Regions from separate parts of the Homo sapiens genome. Here region 2 is linked to region 1. The links are contacts of gene promoters, found by promoter capture Hi-C in blood cells and fetal thymus (Javierre and others, 2016). All regions are on one chromosome and are shown on one strand. Each heading gives the region's core, a stretch centred on a gene start or on the middle of the fragment in contact. The rest is flanking DNA. Distances are from core to core; before and after follow the strand shown. Region 1 holds the start of SLITRK2 (SLIT and NTRK like family member 2). Region 2 has its middle 120 kb from the start of FMR1-AS1.

What was found. Contacts are between HindIII fragments. The CHiCAGO score rates a contact against its expected background, and 5 or more counts as called.
Region 2: a fragment that was not itself captured here is called in contact with the fragment with the promoter of SLITRK2 in region 1 in 1 of 17 cell types (M0 macrophages); the score reaches 6.3 in M0 macrophages.

The regions. Positions count from the first base shown.
Region 1 is chrX:145,813,324-145,819,832 of GRCh38, reverse strand. SLITRK2 (SLIT and NTRK like family member 2) reads right to left here and starts at 2,004. Exons shown (of 5, transcript NM_032539.5): 1 at 1,807-2,004. The HindIII fragment of the contact is 7,249 bases long and covers 1-4,295 here.
Region 2 is chrX:147,792,562-147,798,981 of GRCh38, reverse strand. No RefSeq gene overlaps it. Among named protein-coding and RNA genes, the nearest start is that of FMR1-AS1, 120 kb to the left of the region's middle. The HindIII fragment of the contact is 2,444 bases long and covers 2,193-4,636 here.

The sequences.
Region 1 (6,509 bases), core at 755-3,254:
TTGCTTGGCGTTTAGCAAAATACTTTCCTTCTGGAGACTCAAATTTTCCTTCTCCATAGAGAAGGGCAAACTTGAGATGAGCTCTGAGGCAGAGGGACAGCCCTGTGGATGGCCTCCCACCCTGTATTGCAATTGCATCATTAGATGGAAGCAGTCTGATGCAGTGGGAGCACAATTAAGCTCCCTTTCCTAGCAAAGGAGGCATTTGTTTCTATGTATTTCCAAAGGTTAAAAGCACATAGTTCCTAGAGCAATAAGATTTATTCATTCAGTCATTCATTCAACAAACATGTATTATGTCAATATTTAACTGAAGTAAAGACGTGAGAGCCGAACAAGACCTTAGAAGTCAGGTTCATTTTACAGATGAGGTCATTTCTTAACCAGGGAAAGTGCTGACTTACTCAAGAAACTACAAATAGAAACAAAACCCAGGGATTATGAGTCCCAGTCCATCATCTTTCCAAAAAGCACACTACTGCTTAATATGAATTAAAAATCTACTTAAACGTAAATAGCAGTGGTAGTGTTTTACTTAAAGGTATCCTTTTTATTAAAAAAAAATGTATTTGAAAGTGAAACATCAAATACTAGTTTCGGTTCTCAGATACAGTAATTTCCTTCAAGACATTGATGACGCTTTCAATATTCCTTGAGGACAGATTATTTTTGCGAAGAATTTCAGAGACAGGAGAGAGATTCAGAGAGAAAGGTGGAGGTGGTTGGGGGCTCATGAGATTCTTGAGACCTACAGAATCAAGGAAATTCATGGGTAATCTAACTGTGGGAAGCGACACTCGGACCCTAAGGAGGTCTTCGTTCCTGCCTGTCCTTGAGAGTCCACAGCTGCTTTCCAAAACGTAGTTACTAGGAACAAATCAGCCTGAAACGCGATAACCACTTTAAGTAAGTTTCATTTGGCCCCGTGTCTTCTGAAGAACTGCCGCAGCACTCCGCTAGGGAGAGCGGGCTTTTAAGGCTGTGGAAAGGTTCAGGGTGAACTGGGACCCCAAGGGAGGGAAAGGCGGTCATTAAAATAAGGAAAACGCTCCCTCTCCTTGCTGAGGCAAGGGAGGCTTAAAGACGAACTCCGTCGCCTGTCTCACTCGCATCTAACCGAGTAGAGCCTGGCTCAGGTCTCCAAGCCTTCCACAGGACACGGTGGGTGCCGGCGGGCTTACAGCCCACCTCCGTCCCGGCCGCCCATCAGGCCACGAGGGGGCTAAGAGGAGTCCGGGGAACCAGAGAGGGGGCACTGCTTGCCCGCAGCCTCTTCTTCTAAACACCCGCCGCCCGCAAGCCGGGTCGAATCCCATTTCCGAAGGGCGCTTCCGGGAGACCAGGTGTCTCCGAGCGTCCCCGATCGCCGGTAACTGGGCACCGGCCGCCAGCGCAGCCCTACCTTCCCTGCCCCTACCTGCTAGACGCCTGGTGCGGTGCCCGGCATGCGGACCTACAGCCGCGACGGCCACTCGGGCTGCCCTCGCCATGGGACTTGGGCACTGCAGGCCGACCGGAGGCTTCTAGCTCGCGCCGGGTGCGTGGGCCCTCCCTGGCCGCCTGTGCCACCCCGCTGCGCGAGGCGCGGAGCCCGACCACGCCCGCGCGGACGGTCCCGGGGTGAGGAATCTCCAGTGGGGATTGAGGGTAGAGGGCGGCCGCCAGCGAGCTGCCCTCCGCGGATGGCGCCCAGCCTCCCCACGCTGGTGCCCCTCGCAAGGAGAGGTGGCCGGGAAAGGCAACGGACTGAGGAAAGCCGGCTCACTGGCCGCGTCGCCACCGCGTCCCTGAGTGCTCAGAACTTACCGAGCGAGCGCGCCGCCCAGATCTTTTCCCGGAGGCGCCCGCAGCATCTGCGACTCGGGGAGGCAAAGGAGCCGGCACCGCCTCGGACTGGCGCAGCCCAGGAGCGAGAGCACCGCGGGGAGCGCGGGCGGCGCCCCCAGGGCAGGCAGATCCCCACCGAGCAGCTAGCCAACGGGCAACGCTTCTTGCAGGAAGGAGGGAGGGAGGCGAGAGGGAGGAGGGAAGTAAAGCGGGAGGGAGGAGAGGGGAAGAAGGGAGGGAGGAGGGAGGAGGGAGGGAGGAGGGAGGAGGGAGTGAGGAGGGAGGAGGGAGGGAGGAGGGAGGGAGGGATCGCGTCCCCCCTCTCCCTCACTTATCAATCACCCCACAGATCAAATATCCGGGCTGTGCACCCAGGACGGGGATGTAAGAGCCCACAAAGGAGCCGCTGCTCCATTTCTCTGACAAGCGCTGCGGAGCACTGCTCACGCCTCTCGGTCCCTCTTGCCTGGAACTCTGCCCAGCCCTTGCGGCTTCCACCCTGGGCTGCAGCTCGGGCTCGGTCAAGTGAAATAAGAATGGCACACGGTCGGTACCATGTCCAAGGGGAGACTAAGACTACTGGGTGGAAGTTAACGACAAGTGAAAGAGCAGTCAGCCATCCGAGCTGGACACCCTCCGGGACAGCTGCCTCCCCTAACTAGTAAGCGCCCAGTCTTTGGGAGTTCGCAGGCAGATATTTAAGAACCTCCTACGAGGATCGTAAACAAGGACTTTCAACATAAGATAGAGCTGAACTTGAGTTGTGCAAGTGTGTTAACAAAGCAAGCCCTTAGCAGCGTTCCAGTGCCCATTTTGATTCCCTTTATTCTTCACGACGACGTTGCCTGGATCTTCTAGAGCGTGATTTTTGCCATCCTCCCTTCCCTTTTCTCCTTTCTTCTTCCTCTTATTAGTAGTCCAGGTGGTTGTGATTCTATTAAAGGAAGGCGCTCTGTGAAAAGAGTCAGTGTAGTTCAAGAGGGAGGTGCGGTTTTTGCCAAGAGCATTGCGTTTCCCCTCAAGACTTGCTTTCTCTAGGGCCTCTCCTCTACTCTTCCAGAGTATTCGAGATAAAGTTGCAGTTTGATAAATTTATGCCAGGAGTAGGGAGTTCATTTGATGACACTAAGTCATTTTCCCCTCCATCCTGTAGGAGAACGTCATTAATTCAAGTCGTTGCCACCCCCTATCCTTTTCATGCCCGCTAGAGTCTGCAAAACCCCAAATCCTTCTTACTGTCGAAAAGCGTGATGGTGGAGAGCAGACGGGGAGGCGAGGAGAGAGGTGCAAAATTAGACGCAAAATTACCTCTCCAGCTAGTGGATCTGCATTGGAATTTGTCTGTTTCCATATTTCCCATGCCTTTCAACTCGTTCTCACAGCACTGACAACCACCTTTTTCTTGTCCTTCCCGTGGGAATCTTTTGTGCTTCTCCTGTCCTCTCTTCTTGGCTTTCTTTCATAATGGTTTTCTAAGGAGATTATGCTGGGCTTTTTAAAAAGAAAACTACTGGCAATCTTATATTATGAAGATGTACAGAGTTTGCTTTAATAATAGTCGGAAGAATTATAATCGTATCTTCGGAGTTGTAAGGGTCATTACTGTTCCTTTTATTTCATTCTTGAGAAAGCCTTTTTGAAATCTTCCTACCATTCAGATAAGCAACTTCGGAATAACATAGTTCTCACATAAGCACGTGGGCAGTGTATGTACGGTTATATATCCAGAAGCATTGCTCTTCTTTTTACAATATCTGTATTAGTGTAAACATCCAATGTGCTGTTTGCTACAGACTAAAAGCAGTGCACTGAGCACATCATATTATTAACTAAATGAGGTCAGTTAATACTGTTACTTCTGTCTTTACCGTATTTCTGACTGTGTCATCTTTTCATGTCGCTTTTAGTAGATGTTATAAACAACTGCAAAACACAGAGCTAAGAGGCCATTCCAATACAGAAATAATGAGACAGTCATGCTGAAAAACTCAGACAGTTTACTAAGAAGGGTGATGTGTCTGTAGCCAAAGGGAACATACAAAATAAGCAAAAACTTCTATACAGAGTAGAGAAGGAACATGGCATTAATGATGAAAAGTGATACTTTATTTAGATCCAGTAGTAACATGTAATAGATGGCATGCATCAATTTTAATTAGCCTTGTAAGCAAGTCTAACCTGTTCACCAGCCTTCGAAAAGCATTTAGCAGCCTGCCTTTCCACATGGGACCACACTGATAGTAAGACAAAATTAAAAAGAGCAGACTTTTCTTTTTGTCAGCATAAAATTTTCAAGTAGGTGGATAGCTGTGCTTTGAATGCACAGACACGAAAATTGATGAGCAATATAAAACTTTCTGAGAGGGTTTTGCATAGACAGTTATAATGGAGGAGAGTTTGAAGTCTGTGAAAAATTTAAATATGCCAATTTATTTGAAAGCTGCTTTATGCTGAATTTTCTAAAAGCTTCTGTGTTAGAGGAAAATTTCCAAATAGAATTGAATACTAGAGACACCATATTAATGTACTTCTGTTCATTAATAAAAATCACATTATTCTTCTTTATACTAGCACTGTAAATGTATCTTTATATCCATGTGCTGTTTTCTTTTTGAAAAACTTTTATTTTAGGTTCAGGTGTACGTGTGCAAGTTTGTTATATAGGTAAATTGCATGTGGTGGGGGTTTGGTTTACTGTAAGCTACTTTCTATTGTGAAGTTCGTGTTACTAAACAACATAGAGATCCCGATTGGAAAACTAGTGGAAAAACAGAGAAATAAAACTAAATCTTGCCTGGGTTTTTATAATTTCATTCTAAGGTTAGAAGAAAACCAGAAATTTCACCTGCGATGAGTGAGATAAAAAGCGCATATGTTTCCAGGATGATGTAAAGGATGTCCTATTACTGTGTAGTACGTAATTTACCTGAGAATGTTGCTTTTTCAACTTCTTCACACCTATCCAGAACTAGAAAGCTTTAAAACATATAAAAGAAGACAAAATGTGCTGCATTTTCAGTGAACATAGTTTCTTTCCAACCAAAGGTTTCAAAGAAGAGTGCCACAGAACAAATTCCTAAATAAAGAAACGCAACAAAGCGGACATGCCCTTAATATTAGTAATTATAGTTTACAGGATATTGTAGACTTTTGTTCCTGATGTTATTGAAAAGGTGGATATTTTTCAATTCAATTCAATTATTTGGATTATTTGGCAGGCATTTTGGCCTGATTGAAATAGTGCTGGGCCAAGACCCAGGGCAGTTTTTCTTTTAATCAAATACATATCCAAGCCCTTGGAGCCCAATGACCTGGGTTCAAATTCCACCCGTGCTACTTTCTCACAATGGGACAAAAACAGCATTACACCAATTTCAGTTCCCCATGTGTAAAACTGGCACCTGCTATGTGGAGTCAGTAAGGATGGGATGTATACAGAACTCTTGAAAATTGAACGGTGGTACATGTATGTGCAAATAAATCTTAAACTAAAAAAATTTTTAACTCACTTCTTAAAATAAATAAGTTATACAAAATATTTTATATCTGTTTTCTATGTTTCTCATGACAATCCTCAACAGGCCAGTATGATTAGCCAGACTTTACAAAAGAGGAAAGTGAGACTCAGAAAATTTAAGTAACTTACCCTTACTCCCATTCTTGGTGAAATGGTTGATTTTAGTCAGAAACCAACATCTTAATTTAAGTTGGATAACAGAATTAGCATTAGAAAAAATATTTATGATTCTAGTTGGAGCCATGTAATGTCAAACATTTAAAATAACTTCAAAAAAATTCCATCTTTCATTTTACAGATGTTTTCAAATAGTTACATATATGTATACATCAGGGCTCAAACTCAACACTGTTGATATATTTGGTCAAATGATTATTTGTTGTGGGGGCTGCCCTATGCAATGTAGAAGGATTAGCAGCGTCACTGGCTTTTGTGTGTGTGTGTAATGTGCATATGTATACTATATATACATACGTGTAATTATATAAATGTAATAAGTAATATAACAATATATAATGAAATATTATTCTATTGTAGTCGATTTTTTAAATGCTTGGCTGTGGCCCACTAAACTGAACTCAGGAGTGACTGTAGATTGCCTCTTACAGTTTGAATAACACTGCCACGCTGGAATGGGCAGGAAAGGAAGGAAAATGGGATAGAAAGGAGAAAAGAGGCAGTAGATCAAGAGGGGAAGTACAGAAATAGAAGGAAAAGACAACTGCATGTCTTACAAAGTTATAGAAAGACTTATGGTGCCCCCATCAATTACACCAAGTGCCACTTATTAATGATACCTGTTCTCTAAGGGCTCTGGCTCTCCCTCTTTTTTGACTGAGTCCAGTGATTTATCAGTAAGAACCACATTTAAGCTTACTAGACTTGGGAGCACATATACATGGCAAAAGCCACAAATTTAACAGATAAGGCTCAGGACAGCATTAGTAGGTATTTCATCTATCCTGACACATTCTATCTTATGAATTTTGCTGCAGCTGGAAGTCATATTTTGGTTTGGAGTTACAACCTAATGTGTTCAGGAGGAAGCCAAATTTATTAGGTTTGACATTGCACTTTATTGGAATGGTATAATGCAGTTGAGCCTCTGTAATAAGTTCTGTTGATTTTATTTATGTATTTATGTTTGGCTAGTATAAATATATGG
Region 2 (6,420 bases), core at 2,165-4,664, 2.0 Mb before region 1:
GGTTTTCTGTTCTGGTGTTAGTTTGCTGAGGATGACGGTTTCCACCTTCATCAATGTCCCTGCAAAGGACATGAACTCATCCTTTTTTTATAGCTGCATAGTATTTCCATAGTGTATATGTACCACATTTTCTTTAACCAGTCAATCAATGAGGGGCATTTGGGTTGGTTCCATGTCTTTGCTATTGTAAATAGTACTGCAATAAACATACATGTGCATGTGTCTTTATAGTAGAATGATTTATATTCCTTTGGGTATATACCCAGTAATGAGATTGCTGGGTCAAATGGAATTTCTTGTTCTAGATCCTTGAGGAATCATCACACTGTCTTCCACAATGGTTGAACTAATTTAATTCCCACCAACAGTGTAAAAGTGTTCCTATTTCTCCAGAGCTTCACCAGCATCTATTGTTTCCTGACTTTTTAATAATCACCATTCTGACTGGTGTGAGATGGTATCTCATTGTGGTTTTGATTTGCATTTCTCTAATGATCAGTGATGATAAGGTTTTTTTCATAAGTTTGTTGGCTGCATAAATGAGAAAGACGAATTTCTTATGTTCTTACTCGTATGTGGTATCTAAAAAAGTTGATTTCATGGAGGTGGAAAGTTGAACAACAGATACCAGAGGCTAGGAACAGTGAGTGGGTGGGATGGGGGAATGAAAAGTGGTTGGCCAATGGGTACAAACATACAGTTAGATAGAAAGAATAAATTTTAATGTTTGATAGTAGAGTAGCATGACTATAGTTAACAACAATGTATTGTATATTTCAAAATAGCTACAAGTGAGGCCTTGATATATACCATACTACATATAACGATAAATGCTTGAGGTGATGGATATCCTAAATACTCTGACTTGTTCATTACACATTCTATGCATGTAGTAAAACATCACATGTACCCCATAAATATATATAAATATTACATATCAATAAAAAGAACAATAAAAAGTAAACAGAATTTTAAAAATAATATAAGTTCAAGAGATACTTAGCCTCATACAGTGACATTCCTTGGTGAGGTCCCAATAACTTTAGGTCTGGTTCCTGGCCTTATCGGTTCAGGGCTTGGAATGGGTCAGTGAACACCGAGGAAATCAAGCTATGGGGGCTGACTCAGTTAACCAGATTCACAAGAGACTGATAGAGTTCTCAGTCTTTTCAAGAATTCTAGCTCTTAGGGTCTAGAGGAGGAAGTATAAAAGAAAACAAATACCTGCGTGATTTCCCAGCTTCTGCAAAGACTTTATGCATGTCACAGTGCCTTGAGCACAATGGGACTTGGGATGTTAATGTTTTGCACCTAAATCCAAACTAGCACTCATATTTTATAATTTGAAGATATTTGTTCAGGATGTTGTTTTCCTCTTGTTGATGCTCTGCTTATAAGGACCTACAGGATGGAGCTTTAAAGACCAGTCACCTTCGTGATTGACTTGGGCCCTTCTTCTTTACCCAGCATCAATAATCAGTCAAATGTCCAGGATTTTAGAACTTCTGCATATTAGCTAGATAGAAGGTAAACTATCTGGGGGCAAATGAACCATAGATAGCAACCAAATGGCACTAGATAAAGCATGCAGGGGCCCAGGAGATCAAAAAGGAAGAAATAGTAACTAGGTTGTCTTAATCAGGGGTTAAGCGTGGAGCCCAAAACAGAAAACGATTTTTTCCCCATAGACTCAACACATCTGAATAGAAAACTATTTTTTTAAGATGAGACCCTAACAGTATAGACCATGATGGAAACACAGAATTTAAACTGAGAAACTGAAACTATTCTCTGCCCTTTAGAAAACTATACAAAAGGAAGCAAAGCTTCTAGCAGGAGGTGACCTGGGGAGCGTAAACTCAGAGCAGAGAAAATTTGATGGCCTTCATGGTCAGTGCCATCAGCTGTCACAGTTGATGACACTAGGAATGAGATGATAATTATTATTATTAGTAGTAGTTTTTGATGACCAGGGCCCCTGTGCTCAGGCAAGGCTACAGACTTGGGACTCATTCCAACTCTCACTTCTTTGGCTTGATTCCAAGCAGGCCTCACCCATCTGTTGCCACATAGTTGCCTCAGATAGTCCAGTCACTGTGCGATTGAGAAAATTATATCTTCATATTAATTACATTCTATTTCCTGGGAAGTATCCTGAGATGTTGATGGATGCTATGGAAATATCCAAAGCTTTAAGCAAAATGCTGCTTCTTGTGTCTTATATTCTCTATCACAAGCTGGTTTGTACTAGCGTCTACCTCATAGGATTGAGCTTGTCCTCCTGTGGTTCCCTGTGCATATTCCTTTCTACCGACTAACAACAGCTACCAGACAGGTTCTCTTTATTTACTGAATTCTGGAAGAGGACCTCTTATCAAGATGGTGGCATATGTTTGAGATAGAAAATAGTCCAGGGAATCCACTTTGCTCTGTAAATGTAAATAAATATAAGACTCGATTATAAAAGGCGACTCCTAGATAAAGGTTTTTTTGTTTGTGTGTTTTGTTTTTTTTTTGTTTTTTGAGATGGAGTCTTGCTCTGTCGCCCAGGCTGCATGACACATGGCAACGATAACATCTTGAACATATTTCTTCACTTTTAAAGCTCCATTTCTCTATCTGATAAATGGAATACATCCACTGATTCGTTATAAAAAGCCCATGAGATTATGCATGGTATGCGCCTGACATAAAATAGGTGTTCAATAAGCAATGCGCATTTTACCTTTTTCTGTTTCCTTTTGTTAGGAAGTACACATTTCCCAAGTTCAAATGGCTACACACTGCTTTATTAGTTTATCATGGCTGCTGTAACAAATTTCCACAAACTTAGTGGCTAAAAACAATGAAAATTTATTCTCTTATAGTTCTGCAGCTGAGTAGTCCAGATTGAGTCTCACTGGGCTGAAGTCAAGGTGTTGGCAGGGCTGGTACCTTCTAAAGACTCTAGGAGAGAATTTGTATTCTTACATTTTCCAGCTTCCAGAGGATGCCTGCATTCTTCGGTTCATGGTTCCTTCCTCACATCACTCAACTTCACGTCTCCTTCTCTGACTCTGACCCTCCTGCCTCCCTCCTTCCCATATAAAGACTGTTGTTATTGGGCTCGCTCAAATAATCCAGGATAATCCCCGATTTTAATTTCCTTAACTCAATCACATCTGCTAAGTCCCTTTTGTCACATATCACAACATAGTCACAAATTTTGTGAATTAGAAATTGGACATCTTTTGCAGGGAGGGCATTATTCTGCCAACCACAGATGTTATGAAAAAGGTGTAAGTTTGATGAGACCTGCATTTCAGGTCCAGAGTTAAGGGTTGGGAAGAGACAGCTCTTCAGCTGAAGCCAAGACATGTTTTCCCTTGCAGTCCTTGAAAGAATGGGCACATAGCAGGGGCAGTTGGATCAAGACCAATACATCTCAGGGGCAGGGTGCTGGAGAGAGGACTGGGATGACACATTTCCACTCATATTTTGTTCCAAGATAGTTTTGAAAACACAGAGTGTTTTCAAGAACATTTGCTGAACATCCAGAAGTACCCAAGTGTTTGTCTTTAAAAGAAAGACTGTCACAATCTAGCCCTTGGGGTCTACAAAATTACCTATCAGGGAAATCAAAGGAACAGAGTAAGATGAGCTAGCATATGTGACCCAGAGGATCACACAGAAAGGTAATCCTAGAGTTTTGAGGGTGTACAATAATGGACTCAGTCCTTCTCAACCTGATTGGGTTTGGGCTCTCTGCCAAAGGAGAAATGGATTTGCTTTAATGTACATCCTCACTTTCAGGTTCTGGGGAACACTTTAGATGCCTGCATCAACCTGGTCCAGGGATTCGTATATATCTGCAAAGAGCCCTTTCACCAAAATCATGGCATGAGATAGAGATTTCTTTCCTTCTAATCTGTATTCCTTCTATTTATTTTGCCTGTATAAGCAAAATATGAACTTTCATTTTGTTCCTTGGCTTCTGCATGTCTTGTTTTGCCCTAAACAATCCTGGATGTAGGATTCAACTCCTCATCTTGTTCCCCTAAAATATCCACTTCCACAAATATGGTAGTGTGTGGTAAGGATATTACTGAAGATTTCATAGCAAACACGGAAGAGAGGATTCATACCACAAACTCCTTGGTTAACTATGGAAAAATTTCCCACTAATGATTTCTTTCTCTTATAGTATCCCCATCACCTTGCCATACTGCCTCTGATGATTAGCTGTCTGCCTCTCTTTTATCTCATACAGTTCCTGTACCTTCACTAATTCCAAAGGAGCCAAAAGTGTGGTAGCAAGTGCTTCCCCTAGAAGCCAAGCCTGCAATATGGTCAAAGCCTTCAAAGGGAACCCTGAGTAAACTTAACTCCAGCACTGGTCTAATTCTGCCAAGTCGTGCCATTCATCTTTCATCCTCTGAATTGCTATTTGTTAAATAGAGGTTTTGGATATGGTTAAAAAATTAATTTCTCTTGAATTTCTTGTCCATTTACATTATTTTTGAGGAAACGTTATTGTGCCTGGGATGACAGATGTCAGCTAGTTAAGGAAGTTGAAGTGAAGTGAGAGTTTCCAGGACACCATTAACAGTCTTGTGTGGTCCAAGGAGTTTCCAGCACTCAGCTGCAGAGGGAAGCTTCCTTGGTGATCACTGATAAGCAATAACTAGACCACGGACTAATTGAAACCTTCCCTGACTGTCCTATGTCTGAAAGTGGGAAATGAATCTTCCCCATTCTTGGTGCCAGAAAGAAAGAAAAAAAGGTGAAGGAGTAGTTAGATATGAGTTAGATATGTTAGTTATCAATTCAGGCATAGTCAGAAGATGAGCACTCACAATTTCTCTCCCACGGAAGCATGGGGTTGGTTTTGGAGTCTGGGAGGCACTGGTCAGAATGTTGGTAGCAGACTGAGCAGACAATGAAAGCGTAGCCTCTTTGGGTTTCGGCCACCTCTATACCTTCTCCCTTGCCAATTAGGAGATCTGAGTGGTGTGTTCAAAGCCAAAGAGCTGTGCAAACCCTGTCACCAAGCTAGATGGCGAGATGCTGACCAGAAGTTGATCATGCCTTGTACAGGCAAGATGACTAAGAAGAAGAATCTAGGTCAAGGACTAGCACACAAATCTCTGTTGCTGACCTCTCCCTGTGGGTGCTCATTTATTTTATTTAAAAATTAAAAACAAATATCTTTCACAGTACTTACATCTCACCAAAAAATTACAGAAATATTAATCATAGTTCTAAGAAAGTGATATGACAATGGCAACTAACAGAATAGAAGGAAGACAATAATATTTTGAACTTCCCTTCTTTCTGGTCCATCCAGAATTCTCCTATCAAGCAGACCTCTCTGGCGTGCACAATACATTACGGATCTACCAATTCCTTAGAGAAAAATGTTTTTGTTAAAGAGATAGCTACATTTACTTGTTTTAAAATAGAAAGCACTATGGCAACTGAAAACATGATTTGTAATAACCTTGTATCCAGGACGGTTCACATAAAAGGCCCAGGCAATAAAAATAGATTATAAAAATATGGAGAGTGCTATAACGAACTTGAATCTTAATTCATATCCACCTCAACATTTTGTGAGAGGATCTGATATGGTTTGGCTCTTTGTCCCCACCCAAATCTCATCTCGAATTGTAATCCTCATGTGTTGAGGGAGGGAAGTGATTGGATCATGGGGGCAGTTTCCTTCATGTTGTTCTCGTGATAGTGATTTCTCACAAGATCTGATGGTTTTATAAGGCACAGTTCCCTGCTCTTGCATGCTCTCCCTCTTGTCTGCTGCCATGTAAGACATGCCTGCTTCCCCTTCCACCATGATGACATGATTGCAAGTTTCCTGAGGCCTCCCCAGCCATGTGGAACTGTGAGTCAGTTAAACCTATTCTTTTATAAATTACCCAGTCTTGGATATTTCTTTGTAGCCATGTGAAAACCGTCTAATACAGCATCTCTTCAGTGTGAGTTACATTCTTTTACATTTCTTAAAAACGTGAAGTTGGACAAATTCAGAAACTTGGTCAAAACTCAAATTGGGCTGGTGAACAATCATGAACAATTTTCTCTCTAATCTCATAATAACCCTTTGCATTTAGACACATTAGGCATAATGTAAACTTTCTACAGAAAAATGTGTGTGCAAATTCCAGGGATTGTGGGCAATAGTGACATTTTTAAAAAGTGACATTTTAGTACATCCTCACTTTCAAAAGCAGCAGGCTTTGGGGATGCTATTTGCCAAATAACCTATGAAAGAGTTTCTTTTAATGTGTGTATACTTAATAAAGGTATTATGGATCTCCTGCCCTAATTTCTAGGTCAGGCCATTCAATTTATCCTCCCTAAAAGATTTTTTGGAGTATCAGTGGAAAAAAATTAGATCAGAGAAACCTCTAGGTAGCAGTGCTA